2 separate regions of the Homo sapiens genome follow, and region 2 is linked to region 1. Evidence: promoter capture Hi-C in human tissues and cell types (Jung and others, 2019). All regions are on one chromosome and are shown on one strand. Each heading gives the region's core, a stretch centred on a gene start or on the middle of the fragment in contact. The rest is flanking DNA. Distances are from core to core; before and after follow the strand shown.

Region 1 (2,700 bases), core at 63-2,562:
TCTGGTACTGAGATATGGCAGCATTGGGAAGGGGGCTGGAGAGCCTGTGCTTCCCACTAAGGTTTTTTAAAAAGAAAGTCCTGCACCTTGTTAGGAGGATCGACCTGGGTTTTGGGAACACTGCAAAACCTGCCGTGGGAGGGAACTCCTGAGAAAACTCCTCTGCAGTGGGAAGAGATGGTATGGAAGGCAGCTTCCTCAAATGCTGGATAACCGCCTCCTAGGAGTGGGTGCTCCGTCAGGAATCGGTGCGAGGTCGCAGGACCAGGATGGAATTTCTGCAGGTGGTCCTAGGTCTGAGCAGCACAGTAGAATCACCTGAGGCTTTGAAAACTATTGAGCTCCACGCATTGTGGGAAACTGAGTTAACTGGTGTCTGGGGCTGGCAATGTCTTTAACTCTTACTATTCTAATAAGTCCCCAAGGTTGGGAATCATGGTAACCCGCAGGGTGGGCATCAGCCATCCTCCATAGCTCCAGCCATTTCTGTCTGTGCGGGCCCCCTCGCTGCTGCTTTTCATGGTCTCCCTGAGGGCCGAGCGAGGCTGAAGAGGTGGGGTCAGCCCGGAACAAGGATGAGAAGGCAAGGCGCACCATTCTTTCATTGGTGTTTCTCCAAACACCCTGGGCTCCCCTGGCCTCACAGCCTGGAGAGTCTCATTCTGAAAGCGTAGGAGGGCGCCCGGGAATCTTTTTAACAAGCCAACCCAGGTGCTTCTTACAATCAGGAAAGTTTGGGGAACGTCACTGTACACCCTTTTCTGGGTCCAGGTCATGGAATGGAAACGTGAGCCAATCTATCAACGTAAAACCTAACACTGTTGATCAAAAGTAACGCCCAGGTGTCTTGTGCCTGCGAGTCCAAGCTTGTTTCTCGGGCGAGAGATGCCCCTTTGGGCGCTTAGGGCCGGGCGGGGTCGCGCGCCGGGCTGTGGGCCGCGGTGGAGACCTGACCCGCACTCCGAGGGTTCCCAGAGAGCCGGGGAGCGAGTAGCAGAGTCATCGTTTCCAGCTTCAGCCTGAAAAGCTGGACCGTGCCGCCGCATGTGCGCTTGGCAGCCGGGCGCCCCGGGCCCTGCGGCCACATCATCCTGGGGCGGGGACGTGTGCGCTCCGGGCGCCCGGACGCCACTGAGCCACGTCTGAGCCGCCCACCCTCGGGGGTGAGCGAGCCGCGGCTCGGGGCGGGACCCTGGCGGGGGGACCCGAGCGGTCTCTAGGACCCGCGGGACGCCGCCAACTGGCGGGGGTGCGGGGGAGACAATAATTTGTTCCGCGGTAATAAGAACGGTGACTGCTGGCCGTGGATCCATTTCACAGGCCTGCCTTCTCTCACTAACGCTCTTCCTAGTCCCCGGGCCAACTCGGACAGTTTGCTCATTTATTGCAACGGTCAAGGCTGGCTTGTGCCAGAACGGCGCGCGCGCGCGCACGCACGCACACACACGGGGGGAAACTTTTTTAAAAATGAAAGGCTAGAAGAGCTCAGCGGCGGCGCGGGCGCTGCGCGAGGGCTCCGGAGCTGACTCGCCGAGGCAGGAAATCCCTCCGGTCGCGACGCCCGGCCCCGGCTCGGCGCCCGCGTGGGATGGTGCAGCGCTCGCCGCCGGGCCCGAGAGCTGCTGCACTGAAGGCCGGCGACGATGGCAGCGCGCCCGCTGCCCGTGTCCCCCGCCCGCGCCCTCCTGCTCGCCCTGGCCGGTGCTCTGCTCGCGCCCTGCGAGGCCCGAGGTAAGTCGCCGAACTAGGGCGGCTCGCTGCCCGCCCCGCCGAGGGCACCGCACGCTGCGCCTGGGCGCGCCGAGGTCCAGGGCTGCCCCGAGGGGCGACGCGCCCCGGCGCATCTCCGGAGCCCCGGGGCTTGCGCTTCCAGCGCGGCGAGACCGACCCCCCCCCCCCAGGTGCCAATTCCTTGGGGAAGGGCGACACTTGGCCCGCAGCCCCACAGGAGCCAGTACCTGCCCCGGAGGGCACAGCCTCGGGACCGCTCCCCCGTCCTCACCCTCTTGGGTGACATTTGCAGATGTCTCTGTATCTTGACATTTACACGTGTCACTCGGGACGATGCGTGTCGGGTCCTCTTGCTGGCCCTATCCCGCAGTGAATATCCCCACCCCAGGCTCCGGGCCAGCCCTTCACCAGGTTTCCTTTCCAGCCCCGCCTCCCCCGCTAACACACTTAGGGGGGCGCGCAGCGGCCCCGCAGGTGAGGCAGCCCCCTCCTCCGCAGGTGTGCCTGCTGCTCTCCACAGCAGGCTCTATTTTCATAAACTGACTCTCTTACCTACTTCTTTAGTTTCCTCTCTGCCCCTCTTCCTGGCTTCCAGGTCACTCCCTAGCTGTCAGTCGCAGGCAAACTTTAGCGGAATTCTCCCTCCTTCCTCCACTCAGTTTCTCCGCCGTAAATAATCGCCCCCATCAACTTGGTGCACAGCGAGAACTTACTTAGTTTAACGTACTTAGTTTTACAGACTTAGGTTTTCCCGAGTTGTAGCCCCTTAAAATCGGGCACCTGTGGCTCCCGTTTGCACAGTGAGGACTCACCCAGCAGGTGCCTTTTTAAAAATCCGGCAACTTCCCCGGGTCTCCGCCGCCGCCGCCTTCTTTCTGCCGCCCGGGGCGCTGTCGGTCCACCGATGAACGACTTCCCTTGGCCGCAAGCTCTCAAGTTCTGTGATTCTATATAACAGGCATTTATTTT
Region 2 (2,718 bases), core at 17-2,516, 240 kb after region 1:
AACAAAAAAGCATTAAAGATTAGACATTATGGGCTAAAACTTGTTTGGTTCCTAGAAGGTTACCAAAAAAGCTTTCAATACTGACAGCATTTTACAATTTTTCCTCAAAAGAAAAGTCTCTAGATGTAAAATTGATAAGCTTAATTCATAAAGCAAGTCACTGAAAATGTCTGGACACATTCACAGAGTGGGAGATTTAAATATACCTCTCTCAGAAATGAAGATTTTTTAAATGAGCAGAAATTAATGAAAAGGAAGACCAAAAAAAAAAAAAAAAAACTCAAGAGGGAAGATGAATTAAACCAAAAGCTGGTGCTTTGAAAATATTCATAAAATGGACAAGACATTTATAAAATTAAGAAAGAAAGAATTCCCAAGTAAATAATATTAAGAATGCAAAGAGGGATATAAATATTTTTATTCAGAGATTTTTTAAATCACAAGAATGTTGTGAACAATACTAATTATTTCTTAGAAATGTAAAATTATTAACACTGGATCAAGGTGAAAGAGGAAAATTTAAATATAACTATATAAAGATATTAAATTTGTAATAGTACTTTTAATATTTACTGACAAAAATAAGCTCAGACTCAAATGATTTAGCTGGTGAGTTTTAACTAACATATAAGAAACAAATAGTTCCTGAGAAAAAAAGAATAATTTTTTTAAAGGAGGGTGTGGAAGGAGCTTCTAAAACAAGAAAAAGAGCATGCACAAAATGAATCCTACAGACTAGTTTCAATTATGGACGTAGTTGCAAAAATCCTAAGTAAATTTTACAAACCCTATCCAGTACATATTTTAAAAATACTTCTGACCAAATTATACTCAACTGAGGAATGCAAGGATAGTTCAACATTAGTATATCTACTAAGGTAATTTAATCCATTAATATCTTCAGATTAAAAGTATTATAACTGATAGTATTTCTTCTGTGATAACCTATACTGTTTCTTATAGTGATTTTAATAGCTTTTGTGAGTGGAGAATGCTATCTATCCCTTTCCTAACCCCATAGAGCCTCACATAGCATCTTGCATATAATAGATTTTTAATAAAATTATCCATCTAGCATTGCATTGTCTTAGGTGATGCCATGTAAAATTCATTTCTTCATCTATTCACTCAGCAAACATTTATTTAGCACCTCCTGTTTGCAGACACTGTTAGGCTATGGGGAGATAGGCTGACTAAAATATATTCCTCAGCATATAAATCCTGCTTAAGAGGCACAGAGCATTTTAAAGACATTTAAAAAACATGTTTTAATGTAATTACTATAATAGGAGATGTGTACAAAATACCACTGTGGTATTTTAATTGTGGCTGATTTTAATTCTTTGGACGCCATTTCACTAAGGAAGTAACATTAATCTGGGTCTTTAAAAGTGGGCAAAGAAGAAGACCAAGATGGGGATGAAACCTTTCCATACTAAAGAGTTTCAACTTTACCTATTGAAATTTGGGAGTCATAGGAAGTTCTCATGCAGCAGAATGGCCTGTTCAGTTCTGTGATTTAGAAAGGGTCTCTGATGACAGAATGGAAGAAAGATTGGTAGGAATATTGGTAGACAGAAGACAGGAAGATTTCTTATGGGCCCATTGTAGTTAGTGAAAATTTTGCCTACAGAACTGGGCCTTGGAATGGTCAGCAATTGGCCAGAGTCAAGAGTCCTTGGGAAGTCAAAGGAGACAGGATCAGGGGATAGAGGGTGGGGGAGGTGTCATCAGTGGGACTTTCCCTTCCACTTAGGCCATTGGATGGGCAATTTGTTTCTCAGTGGTACCATTAAGGAGCAGTTGTTGGTTGGAAGGCAGAGGAGATGAGTCTTGGTTTGTCTGTGTTGAGTTTGTCATAGGACAGCCAAGTAAAGGTCTTCTGTAGGCAGATGGATATATAAGAACCTAGAGTACAGAGAAAGATGGAGTCCTAAAGTAAAGATCTGTGGATCAACGTCATAAATAAGTGATGGGCAGGGCCATGAGTTCACATTTGACGTTTATGTCCTCTTTTACCTCCCTAAGATCTCATTTAAAATATGTTTTCAGACTCAGCACTGAGGCTATCTCCACAGTGTAAATAGTTATTTCAGAAAGAAACAGAAAAGAGAGATCTTAGAAATACCACAACAATAGGCTCCGGTCTTCCAAATGTCCACGATCTATGATGGTGAACAGTGCTTGTCTAATACAGACATCTCTAGAATGTGTAAAATATGCATTCAAAGTTATTTGAATAGTTTTGTGCATTCTGTTACAATCTCCCTTACTAGTTTTCTTTTTCTTAGGCATCTGTATTAGTATTAGTCAGGGTTCTCTTGAAGGACAGAACTAATAGGACAGATGTATATATGAAGGGGAGTTTGTTAAGGAGTACAGACTCACACGATCACAAGGTAAGGCCTCACAATAGGCCATCTGCAAGTTGAGGAGCAAGGAAGCCAATCCAAGTCCCAAAACCTCAAAAGTAGGGAAGCCGATGGTGCAGCCTTCAGTCTGTGGCTGAAGGCCCGAGAACCCCTGGCAAACCATTGGTGTAGGTCCAAGAGTCCAAAAGCTGAAGAACTTGAAGTCCGATGTTCAAGGGCAGGAAACATTCAGCACGGGAGAAAGGTAAAGGCCAGAAAACTCAGCCAGTCTAGTCTTTCCACATTCCTCTGCCTACTTTATTCTAGCCGCGCTGGCAGCTGATTAGATGGTGCCCACCCAGATTGA

The links. The method cuts DNA at HindIII sites, captures the fragments that hold promoters and counts their contacts. A contact is called where the count stands out against the background at its distance.
Region 2: a fragment that was not itself captured here is called in contact with the fragment with the promoter of ADAM12 in region 1 in 1 of the 25 tissues and cell types used here (mesenchymal stem cells).

The regions. Positions count from the first base shown.
Region 1 is chr10:126,387,089-126,389,788 of GRCh38, reverse strand. ADAM12 (ADAM metallopeptidase domain 12) reads left to right here and starts at 1,312. Exons shown (of 23, transcript NM_001288973.2): 1 at 1,312-1,731. The coding sequence starts at 1,644. The HindIII fragment of the contact is 8,947 bases long and covers 1-2,700 here.
Region 2 is chr10:126,149,570-126,152,287 of GRCh38, reverse strand. All of the region lies in intron 4 of ADAM12 (ADAM metallopeptidase domain 12), which reads left to right. Among named protein-coding and RNA genes, the nearest start is that of FANK1-AS1, 180 kb to the right of the region's middle. The HindIII fragment of the contact is 3,274 bases long and covers 1-2,718 here.